Linked DNA regions of Homo sapiens: region 1 is linked to region 2. The links are contacts of gene promoters, found by promoter capture Hi-C in human tissues and cell types (Jung and others, 2019). All regions are on one chromosome and are shown on one strand. Each heading gives the region's core, a stretch centred on a gene start or on the middle of the fragment in contact. The rest is flanking DNA. Distances are from core to core; before and after follow the strand shown.

Region 1 (6,089 bases), core at 606-3,105, 39 kb after region 2:
AGTGCTCCAACCTGAATAACCATCTCTCTCTCTGGGATTGCTCTCTGGTCTGGGTCTGCCACCGCCTTTGCTTGAACTTTAGTATCTTTGACTATGAGTTCTTGCCTCCTTTAGTCTGGTTCTTCCAGTCTTGATTGTAACTCACGTCATACCTTTAACCCCCCACCTTTAAGTTTAAAAAAATCCTTATTTTCTGCTCTCCAAAATATAAGATATTCTAATACTAATTTCAGTGAAAGACATAGTTGGCTACTCTACCTTTTTCCCTGCCCTTGCTGCTTATTTTGCTGACTTATGATCACTGCTTGTCTAAGGAGAAACCTATTGTCTAATGCTGATTAGGAAATGGCATGATGTTTGGTTGTCTTACCTCTCTGAAAATAATGTTTACAGACCATGTGGCAAAGGAATAAAAATTACCTGTGGCTCAAAAGAGAGTGGATTGCAAAAACAGCCAATAATTCGCAAATAATTTGATTTTTCAGATGTGTCTTTATGAATCATTGATCATATGTTTGACTTGATAATTGTTATGTATTTTAGATTTTATTCTGATGAATTATAATACGTTTAAGTAAAAAGGCAAATAGTTAAATTCATTCAACAAATATTGCATACCCACTATGTGCGGGATACTGAATTAGGTGATACAAAGAAGAAAAGACAGCTCCTCCTCTCAAACTTGCTTTTGATAAGTTTTGTGGAGTTGGGACTTTGAGAAGCAGGCAAATTGTGAAAAGCAATATATAGAGAGAGTGATATTGCAAAGTGAAGTCATGTACTTCTGAGTGTGGAAATGCAAAATATAGGAAGATTGAAGGAGCTTTTTTTCCCTCTCTCAAAACAATACAGTGTGAGGGAAGGTTTCACAAAGGAGCCAGCATTTGAGGGCAGAATCTTTTTTTTTGTTTAACTTTATTTTATTTTAGATTCAAGATATACATGTGCAGGTTACATGGGTATATTGTGTAATGGTGGGGTGGTATGATTTAGATCTGTGCCCCACCCAAATCTCATGTTCAGCTGTAATCCCCAGTGTTGGATCTGGGGCCTGGTGGGAAGTGATTGGATCATGGGGGTGGTTTCTAATGGTTTAGCACCATCCCCCAGAGCTGTTATTGTGATAGAATTCTCACAAGATCTGGTTGTTTAAAAGTGTGCAGTATCTCCCCCCTCTCTGTCTTCCTCCGGCTCTGGCCATGTGAAGATGTGCCTACTTCTCCTTTACCTTTTGCCATGATTGTAAATTTCCTGAGGCCTCCCCAGCCATGCTTCATGTACAACCTACAGAACCGTCAGCCAATTAAACCTCTTTTCTTTATAAATTACCCAGTTCCGGCTGGGCACTGTGGCTCACGCCTGTAATCCCAGCACTTTGGGAGGCCGAGGTGGATGGATCACGAGGTCAGGAGTTCAAGATCAGCCTGGGCAAGATGGTGAAACCCCGTCTCTACTAAAAATACAAAAAAAAAAAAACTTAGCCTGTTGTGGAGGTGGGCGCCTGAAATCCCAGCTACTTGGGAGGCTGAGGCAGAGAATTGCTTAAACCTGGGAGGCAGAGGATGAAGTGAGCCGAGATTGCACCACTGCACTCCAGCCTGGGTGACAGAGCAAAACTCCATCTCAAAAAAAAAAAAAAAAAAATTACCCAGTTCCGGGTATTTCTTTATAGCAATGTGAGAATGGACTAATACAGAAAATTGGTACTGGGAGTGGGGCATTGCTATAAAGATACCTGAAATTGTAGAAGGAAGCAACTTTGGAATGGGGTAATGGGCAGAGGTTGGGACAGTTTGGAGGACTCAGAGGAAGACAGGAAGAGGAACGAAAGTTTGAAACCTCCTAGAGACTTGTTGAATGGTTGTGACCAAAATGCTGATAGTGGTATAGACAGTGAAGTTCAGGCTGAGGAGGGCTCAGAATGACCGCAGATGAGGAACTTATTGGGAACTGGAGTAAAGGCCACTCTTGCTATGCTTTAGTAAAGAGACTGGTGGCATTGTACCCCTGGTCTATGGATCTGTGGAACTTTGAACTTGAGAGAGGTGATTTAGGGTATCTGGTGGAAGAAACTTCTAAGCAGCAAAGTGTTCAAGATGTGACCTGGCCTCTAGCAGCCAGTGCTCATATTCATGAACAAAGAAATGATGTAAAATTGGAACTTACATTTAAAAGGGAAACAGAGCAGAAGAGTTGGAAAATTTTCAGTCTGACCATGTGGTAGAAAAGAAAAACCCATTTATAGGGGAGTAATTCAAGCAGACTGCATGAATTTGCATAAGTAAAGAGGAGCCAAGTGCTGATAGCCAAGACAATGGGAAAAAGGGCTCCAAGGCATCTCAGCGACCTTTAAGGCAGCTCCTTCTATCATAGGCCCAGAGACCTAGGAGGGAAGAACAGTTTCCTGGGCCAGGGCCCTGCCAGCCTCAGGACACTGCTGCCTGCATCCTAGTTACTCCAGCTCCAGCCATGGCTGAAAGGGGCCCAGATATAGCTCAGGCCTTCAGACGGTGCCAGCCCAAACCCTTGGAAGATTCCACATGCTGTTAAGCCTGCAGGTGCTGAAAGCCAAGAATTGAGGCTTGGGAGCCTCAGCCTAGATTTCAGATATATGGAAAAGCCTGGATGTTCAGGCAGAAGGTTGCTGCAGGGGCAGAGCCCTCATGGAAAAATCTCTACTAGGGCAGTGCAGAGGGGAAATGTGGGGTTGGAGCCCCCAACAGAGTCCCCACTGGGGCACTGCCTAGTGGAGCTGTGAGAAAGACCACCATCTTTCAGACCCCAGAATGGTAGATCCGCTGACAGCTTGCACCATGCACCTGGAAAAGCTGCAGCCACTCATTGCCAGCCCTTGACAGCAGCCGCGTGGGCTGAGCCCTGCAAAGTCACAGGAGTGGCACTGCCCAAGGCCTTGGGAGCTCACCCCTTGCTGCAATATGCCCTGGATGTGAGACATGGAGTCAAAGGAGATTATTTTGGAGCTTTAAGATTTAATAACTGCCCTGCTGGGTTTTAGCACGTGCATGGGGCCCGTAGCCTTTTTCTTTTGGCCGGTTTTACCCTTTTGGAATGGGACTATTTACCCAATGCCTATAATCCCATTGTATCTTGGAAGTAATTAACTTGTTTTTGATTTTATAGGCTTATAGGTGGAAGGGACTTGGCTTGTCCCAGATGAGACTTTGGACTTTTGAGTTAATGCTGGAATGAGTTAAGACTTTGGGGGCTGTTGAGAAGGGATGATTGTATTTTGTAATGTGAGAACATGATATTTTGGAGGAGCTGGGGCGGAATGATATGGTTTGGATCTGTGCCCCACCCAAATCTTATGTTGAATTGTAATCCCTAATGTTGGAGTTGGGGCTTGGTGGTAGGTTTTTTGTTTTTTTTTAGAAATCTCCATATTGTTTTCCATAGTGGTTGAACTAATTTACATTGCTGCCACCCATATATGTGTTACAATTTCTTCACCTCCATGCTAACATCTATTTTTTTTTAAGCTTTTTAGTAATAGCCACTCAGACTTGTGTAAGATGATTGATATTTCATTGTGGTTTTAATTTGCATTTCTCTGATGATTAGTGATGAACATTTTTTCATGTTTGTTGGCTGCTTGTATGTCTTCTTTTGAGAAATGTCTCTTAATGTCCTTTGCCCACTTTTTTTTTTTTTGAGACAGAGTCTTGCTCTGTCGCCCAGGCTGGAATGCAGTGGCACGATCTTGGCTCACTGCAAGCTCCGCCTCCCAGGTTCACGCCATTCTCCTGCCTCAGCCTCCTAAGCAGCTGGGACTACAGGTGCCTGCCACCATGCCCGGCTAATTTTTTGTATTTTTAGTAGAGACAGGGTTTCACTGTGCTAGCCAGAATGGTCTTGATCTCCCGACCTTGTGAGCCACCCGCCTTGGCCTCCCAAAGTGCTGGGATTACAGGCGTGAGCCAGTGCGCCTGGCCCTTTGCCCACTTTTTAATGGGGTTCTTTGTTTTCTTCTTGTTGAGTTGTTTGAGTGTCTTGTAGATTCTGGATATTAGTCCTTTGTCGGAGGCATAATTTGCAAATGTTTTCTCTCATTCTGTAGTTTGTCTCTTTGCCCTGTTGATTATCTTTTGATGTGCAGAAGCTTTTTAGTTAAGTCCCATTTGTTTATTTTTGGTTTTGTTGCATTTGTGTTTGGGGTCTTCGTCATAAGTTGTTTGCCTAGGCCAATGTCCAAAATGTTTAATCTATCTTGAGGTAGTTTTTGTATATGCTGGGAGACAGAGATCCAGTTTCTTCTGCATATGGCTAGCCAATTTTCCCAGCACCATTTATTGAATTAGGGTGTCCTTTCCCTGTTGTTTATATTTGTCAGCTTTGTCAAAGATCAATCTGTTGGATGTAAGTATGTGGTTTTATTTCTGGGGTTCTCTATTGTAGTCCATTGATCTGTGTGCGTATTTTTGTACCAGTACCATGCCATTTTAGTTACTATAGCCTTGTAGTATAATTTGAAGTCAAGTAATGTGATGCCTCTGGATTTGTTCTTTTTGGTTAGGATTACTTTGGCTATTCATGCCCTTTTTTGGTGCTGTATGGACTTTAGAATTGTTTTTCCTAGTTCTCTGAAAAATGACATTGGTGATTTGATAGGAATTGTGTTGAATCTACAGATTACTATGGGCAGTATGGTTATTTTAATGATAGTCTCCAAATCCATGAGCCTGGGATGTTTTTGTGTTTATTTATGACATATATGATTTGTTTCATAAGTGTTTTGTAGTTCTCATGGAGATCTTTCACCTCCTTGGTCAGTGTTTTCCTAGGTATTTTATTTTTTTGCATATGGCTTTTGTAAATGGGATTGAATTCTTGATTTGGTTTTTGGCTTGAATATTGTTGGTGTATAGAAATGCTACAGATTTTTATACCATGGTTTTGTATACTGAGACTTTACTCAAGTTGTTTATCGGTCTTGGAGTCCTTTAGTAGAATCTTTAGGGTTTTCTAGGTAAAAAAATCATATTTGTGAAGAGACATAATTTGACCTCCTCTTGTCCCTTTTGGATATCTTTTATTTCTTTTTCTTGCCTGATAACTTTAGCCAGGACTTCCAGTACTATGTTGAATTGGAATAGTAAGAGTGAACATCATTGTCCTGTTCCAATTCTTAGGGTGAATGCTTTCAGCTTTTCCCCATTCAGTATATTGGCTGTGGGTTTGTCATATGTGGCCTTTATTATGTTGAGGTATGTTTCCTGTATGCCTAGTTAATCTAGCTAGCAGTTTATCAATTTTGCTCATGGATTTGGAGAATATAATATCGTTAAAAAGACAACACTACCTAAAGCAATCCACATACCACCCAAAGCATACTGTCTTGGTTACTGTAGCCTTATAGTATAGTGTGAAGTTGGGTAATGTGATACCTCCAGCTTAGTTCTTTTTGCTAAGGATTGCTTTGGCTATTCAGGTTCTTTTTTGGTTTTATATGAATTTTAGAATATATATATTTTTAATTCTGTGAAAAATGACATTGGTAATTTGGTAGGAATAGTGTTGAATCTGTAGATTGCTTTGGGCAGTATGGCCATTTTAATGATATTGATTCTTCCAACCTGTGAGCATGGAATGTTTTTCCATTTGCTTGTGTCATGTATGACTACTTTGAGCAGTGTTTAATAGTTCTCCCTTTAGCAATGTTTCACCTCCTTGGTTAGCTGTATTCCTAGGTATTTTACTTTTTGTGTGTGGCTATTAAAAATGGGATTTTGTTATTGATTTGGCTCTCAGCTTGAATGTTGTCAGTGTATATAAATGTTACTGCTGCTTGTACATTAATTTTATATCCTGAAACTTTACTGAAGTTGCTTATCAGTTCCAGGAGCCTTTTGGTGGAGTCCTTAGGGTTTTTTAGGTATAGAATCATATAATCACTGAAGAGAGGTATTTGACTTCTTTTCCTATTTGGATGCCTTTTATTTCTTTCTCTTGCCTGATTGCTCTGGTTAAGACTTCCAGTACTGTGGCAAATAGGAGTGGTGAGAATGGGCATCCTTGTCTTTTCTAGTTTTCAAGGGAAATGCTTTCAGCTGCTGCCTGTTTAGTATGGT
Region 2 (5,831 bases), core at 1-2,500:
TCCCTGCAACCAGGCATAAAAAGTGCTAAAGACATAAATAGTTTCAAAGTTTGATTCTGTCACTTACTTGCTCCCTGATCTAGAACAAATTGTCAGCTCTAAGACTTAGCTTCCTCCATCTGTTTAAGAGCATCAAGACACCGACCTGGCAGGTCTGTAGATTCTGGACTCCATCCACTGGGCTGCAGGATCAGCGGGAACAAGAGCTGTGGTCTCTCTTGCTCAAGTATACGTCCCTAGAACCTAGCAGAGGACAGGCACGGAGAAGGCGTTCAGAATTTGCTGAATGGACACGTGAATGAAGAACGATCGAATGACTTAGGCGCTTAGTTAAGGAAACATCAGCTCCTGGCCCTTTATCCCTCCTATTTTTGCTGCCTCTGGCCTGTTAGAACGATTAACCCATGATCTGGGCCAAGGGCTTCAGAGCTGAACGTGGGGGTGGCCCGCGCGCCCCCGCTGAGATCTGGGCGCAGAGGCCTGCGGGCCCGAGGTACCCATCTCCGTTGGCCGCCACACTCCATCGTGGGGCGTCGTGCCGCTGACCACCCCTTTCCCCTTGCGTGGATCTCGGTCACAAGATGGCCGGAACAGGAAAGAAGGGGGCATGCTTTCCCGTTCCCTCCCTCCCCCATCCCGGGCAGGGCCCCCAGCCTTGCGCGGCGCCTCAAGTCCCAGGCGCATGGCACCGCCGGGCAGCCGAACCAGCAGACAAAAGCCGAGAGACGCGGGTTCCAGGGGAACCTCGGCGCCCTTCCTTGGAAGGCAAACAGGCAGTGGGGGCAGCGGCGGCTACTCCAGCTGGATCTGCAGAGGCTCGGCTCGCAGCCTGGAGAGGCAGGAGGGCCGGCTTCGCGGGTATCGGGATGCCCCGTCAGCCACCTCCTGTGGGCGCCTGGCGCATCCCCGGTCTCGGCTCACCCCAGCTGCGCGCTCCTGGGCGGGTGCCGGGCGCTGCAGGCGGGCGGGGGCGACACAGGGGACCCAGACCCCAGGGTCGCTGCTGACGCGGGCCGGGCCCGCGGAGGCCGAGGAGCAGCAAAGCGGAGAGAGGCAGGCCGGCTCCTTCTTGCAGGGCGCAGGATGAAACGTGTCTGGTCTGGGCAAGTTGTGGCGAGGCGGGTCGACTGGCGCCGCTCTAGGGCCTTCCAGACTCCGGACCACGGACGACTCAGGATACCCCACCCCCCTCCCGCCCCCTCCCCTCCGCGATCTCCCTCCGGCCTCTTCCCTCGGTGTCCCGGCTCCTCTGGCAACTGGGCGGGACCGCGAGCGTCTAGACCGCAGCGCTAAAATGCGCTCAGCCAATCCGGCAGCTGGCGCAGACACGTGGTTCGGGGGCGCGCTCCGTTGCTGGCCCTGGATGCTAACCCTAGGAAGGCTTTTCAAAGAGAAACCAGATTCGCTCCTACCCGGTTGTTGGTCTGGCCCTCAGCAAGCTAATTTCCCAGAGGAGCTTCAGGTGAATTATCTTCCAAAAAGAGATGCGTTTTAATCGCAGAAGTCTGCAGATGCGAAGGACCTTGAAAAGGCTATCTAATGTGGCCCTGCATTTGAGTGACGTGGAAAACCGAGATTAGGGACTTTTCACCAAAGCCCTCTAGGATTTAAACCCACGTAGGTTTCTGCGTCTCTTTCCGTTATGCCCACTTCAGGATGAAAGGCACGGATCTTTGTTGGTAGAAAGTTAGGCACTGAATTACAGGAGATGTGGGTCCGGAGTAGTGTGCTCATTTATGTAACCTAAAATTGGAACACGTGGGACAAAAGTCAGTATTTTTAAGTAACAAGTAATCCAGAACGTATGTATATACCATCATGAGAAATGAAGGCATCTTTTGCAAAACCTAAGTGTCTAATGCAGCTATATATATATATATATATAATATATATATATATGTTTTTAAATTAGAGAGGAGTAGCTGCAGAACTTTTACTGGACCAACATGCCGTTGTAAAAGTGCCTTTCCTTGTGCTTCTCCCTGACAGAATCAACTTTGTACCATACTTTAGCACAAGGCTTCAAACATAGCAACAGCTAAATATGTATTTATGTTGAATTCCTTGCTTTAGTTTTATTTGAAGCCATAAGGCCAAGATGACCATGATGGGATTTTAAATTGGTCTAATTTTAAAATTATTTTGAAAGAAAATTCAAGATCTCTATAAAAATCCTCTAAGTACTATGGGGAAAGATTTCTAGATAGAAATTTCAGACAATAGGCCGAGCGCAGTGGCTGACGCCTGTAATCCCAGCACTTTGGGAGTCCGAGGCGGGTGTATCACGAGGTCAGGAAATCGAGACCATCATGGCTAACACGGTGAAACGCCGTCTCTATTAAAAATACAAAAAATTAGCCGGGCATGGTGGTGGGCACCTGTAGTCCCAGCTACTCGGGAGGCTGAGGCAGGAGAATGGCGTGAACCTGGGAGGCGGAGCTTGCAGTGAGCCGAGATCGCGCCACTGCACTCCAGCCTGGGCGAGAGAGCGAGGCTCCGTTTCAAAAAAAAAAAAAAGAAAAAAGAAAAGAAAAGAAAAAGAAAGAAAGAAAAAAAAAGAAAGGAATTTCAGACAATATGAGATAGATAGGACCATTGCTCTGCAAAATCCGGTTTTTGCAAACTCGGTAGCTGTCTGTGTGTGTGTGTGAGAGAGAGAGAGAGATGATTGCTTAATTAATATTATTTGTTGACATACCATTTGAGTTACATGTATTTCCCATCCCCACTGTCAGTATATTACCCTACAGGTGTAGAATTGGAATAAGAAGAATCAATTGACTTTGGCATGACTTAGCAGCCATGATGCATTCTTGATCTATGCACAAACCACTTTTACCAATTGTATAATGGTATACATATTTTTAATGATTAAGGTATCTCTCTCGTCGGTCAGACTATAAGAACCTCAAGTATTCCAGCATTTTGAGCATTTAGTAAGTCCTCAAATAAATATTTGCTTTTTGAAGACAGAAATGATCCTAAAGAATGAAATAATAATACTGGTGAACATTAATCATTTTGTACAGTAAATAAACAAAAGCATTGTAGCTGAATTTATTTCAAATGATTGTTTCTGTTTCTCTCATTTGAAAATAGTTATTGATATTACCTGGCTAATGTCCTTTAGTATGAAGGCGATAAATAAAGAAGGGCAGAAATCACATGTGTTGTCTGATTCAATACATATTAATTATTTTGCCTCATATTCCCATTTCAGATACCTAACCTTGGTTTTATATACATGGTTTAAAGAATAATAGGCCAGGTGAGGTGGCTCAAACCTGTAATCCCAAAACTTTGGGAGGCCAAGGTGGGCAGATCACCTCAGGTCAACAGTTTGAGACCAGCCAGGGCAACATGGTGCAACCCCGTCTCTACTAAAAATACAAAAATTAGCCGGGCATGGTGGTGCACACCTGTAATTCCAGCTACTCAGGAGGCTGAGGCAGGAGAATCACTTGAACCTGGGAGGCAGAGACTGCAGTGAGCTGAGATCATACCACTGCACTCCAGCTTGGGCAACAGAGGGAGACTCTGTCTTGAAAAAGAAAAAAAAAAGAAAAAAAAAGGAAGCAAGTTTATTAAGAAAGTGAAGGAATAAAAAAAAAATGTACTCCATAGGCAGAACAGCCTGTACCACATTTTTTAAATCCAATCCACTGTTGACAGGCACTTTGATTGATTCCACGCCCTTGCTATAGTGAATAGTGCTGTGATGAACATATGGGTATATGTGTCTATTTGATAGAATGAATTATTTTCATTTGGGTATATACCAGGTAGTGGGATTGCTGGGTTGAATGGTAGCTCTGTTTTAAGTTATTTGAGAAATCTCCAAACTGCTTTCCACAGTGGCTGAACTAGTTTGTATTTCCACCAACAACGTATAAGCATTCCCTTTTCTCTGAAGCCTCGCCAACATCTGTTGTTTTTTGACTTTTTACTAATTGCCATTCTGACTGATGGAAAACGACATTAACAGACACTTCTCAAAGGAACACATACAAGCGGCCAACATACGTATGAAAAAATGCTCAACACCACGAATCATCAAAAAAATGCAAATCAAAACAATGAGAAACCATCTCATACCAGTCACTGTGAGATTTAACAGATTTTAGGGCTGGTTTATAGGGAGAAATGTATTTAGGGGCTTGCAGGGAATTTCTTTGTAATTTGTGAGGGAGGCCATCTGGGAAGGTGTATGGCCTTCTATTATTGTGGGAATCTGACTTATATATAAGGCTCTGGCATGGAATTGTGAAATTACAACCATCTGTTTGGAAACAAAATGGTAGGCAGTATTGCCCCAACTCAGTTGCCAAGCTCAAATCTCCTTTGGCATAGTGAGTTTGGGGTCCCAAGATTTTATTTTCTTTCACACTTGGAACCTGAAAGTCAGACCCACATACTAAGGATGGGAAGGCAGAATGATGTTGTAAAGGGGTCATATCAGTCTTGAACCACCTGCATCTAGACATCTCTTCCAGGTGAGAAACCTTTTCAAGACATTTATCTGGATATTCTCTTTTATGCAGAAAAATCGAATTTTAACTGCCATTAGAACCTCCCACATCTCATGATTGTTCTGTGGATTACAGGGAACTGTTCTTGTGATAATTCAACTTCAATTGCATTCACTGCCACTATAACAATTAAATTCCTGGGAGGGTTGGGCACAGTGATTCACGCCTGTAATGCCAGCACTTTGGGAGGTCGAGACAGGCGGATCACCTGCGGTGTGGAGTTTGAGACCAGCCTGGTCAACATGGTGAAACCTCATCTCTACTAAAAACACAAAAATTAGCCAGGCATGGTGTCCCATGCCTGTAGTCCCAGCTACTCAGGAGGCTGAGGGAGGAGAATCACTTGGACTCAGGAGACAGAGATTGCAGTGAGCCAAGATTGTAACACTGCATTCCAGCCTGGGTGACAGAGTGAGACTCCATCTCAAAAATAAATAGGTAAATAAATTCCTGTGAGAAAGATTCTAATTGACTTAGTCACATGCCCAACCAGTGGTTTGGCTAAACGCAGGGTGTAAATGACAGCTCCACCATAATTACTTGAAAAAGACTGTAGCAATCCTCAAAGGAAGGTACCTATATAGAGAAATATGAAAACAAGACAAATGCAATGTCCATTAAATCCAACTCCTTCGCTGCTTAGCACCCACACACACTCATATTCTTCTTTCTATTGATATGTCTTAGTCTGTTTTGTGGCACTACAACAAAGTACCTGAGACCGGGTAATTTATAAAAATGGAAATTTATTTTCTCATACTTCTGGGGGCTGGGAAGTCCAAGATCAAGGCTCTTGCAGGTTTGAGTTTCTGATGAGGGCCTTCTGGTAGCGTCCTCACATGGCAGAAAGCTGAAGGGCAAGAGAGAGTGAAAGAGCAAGTGAGCAGAACGCTTTATGAAGCCTCTTTTATAAGGGCTTTACTCCCATTAATGAGGGAGGCATCTTGATGGCCTAATTGCCTCTTAAAGGCCCCACCTCTTAATACCATCACATTGCCAACACCTGAATTTTGGAAGGGACACATTCGAACCACAGCATTCTGCTGTGGCCCCCAAAATTCATATCCTTCTCACATACAAAATACATGTCTTCCTTCCCAGTAGCCCCGAAAGTCTTAACTTATTCCAGTATCAGCTCAAAAGTCTAAAATTCAGAGTCTCATTTAAATCAGATATGGGTAAGAGTCAGTGTATGATTCATCCTGAGACAAATTCCCTCCAGCTTTGAATCTAAGAAATCAAACAAGCTAAGGGCTTTAAAAGTACAATGGTGTATTTAGGCATGGGATGAACATTCCCATT

Evidence for each region. Contacts are between HindIII fragments. The study calls those that stand out against the background at their distance.
Region 1: a fragment that was not itself captured here is called in contact with the fragment with the promoter of DZIP1 in region 2 in 1 of the 25 tissues and cell types used here (H1 embryonic stem cells).

The regions. Positions count from the first base shown.
Region 1 is chr13:95,682,308-95,688,396 of GRCh38, forward strand. All of the region lies in intron 1 of DNAJC3 (DnaJ heat shock protein family (Hsp40) member C3), which reads left to right. Among named protein-coding and RNA genes, the nearest start is that of DNAJC3, 8.2 kb to the left of the region's middle. The HindIII fragment of the contact is 3,910 bases long and covers 1-3,810 here.
Region 2 is chr13:95,643,456-95,649,286 of GRCh38, forward strand. DZIP1 (DAZ interacting zinc finger protein 1) reads right to left here and starts at 1,251. Exons shown (of 23, transcript NM_198968.4): 1 at 922-1,251; 2 at 146-243. LOC124903194 (a long non-coding RNA gene) reads right to left here. Exons shown (of 2, transcript XR_007063840.1): 2 at 5,256-5,379. RefSeq lists silencers at 864-973, 1,034-1,123, 1,214-1,323 and an enhancer at 1,414-1,463. The HindIII fragment of the contact is 16,516 bases long and covers 1-5,831 here.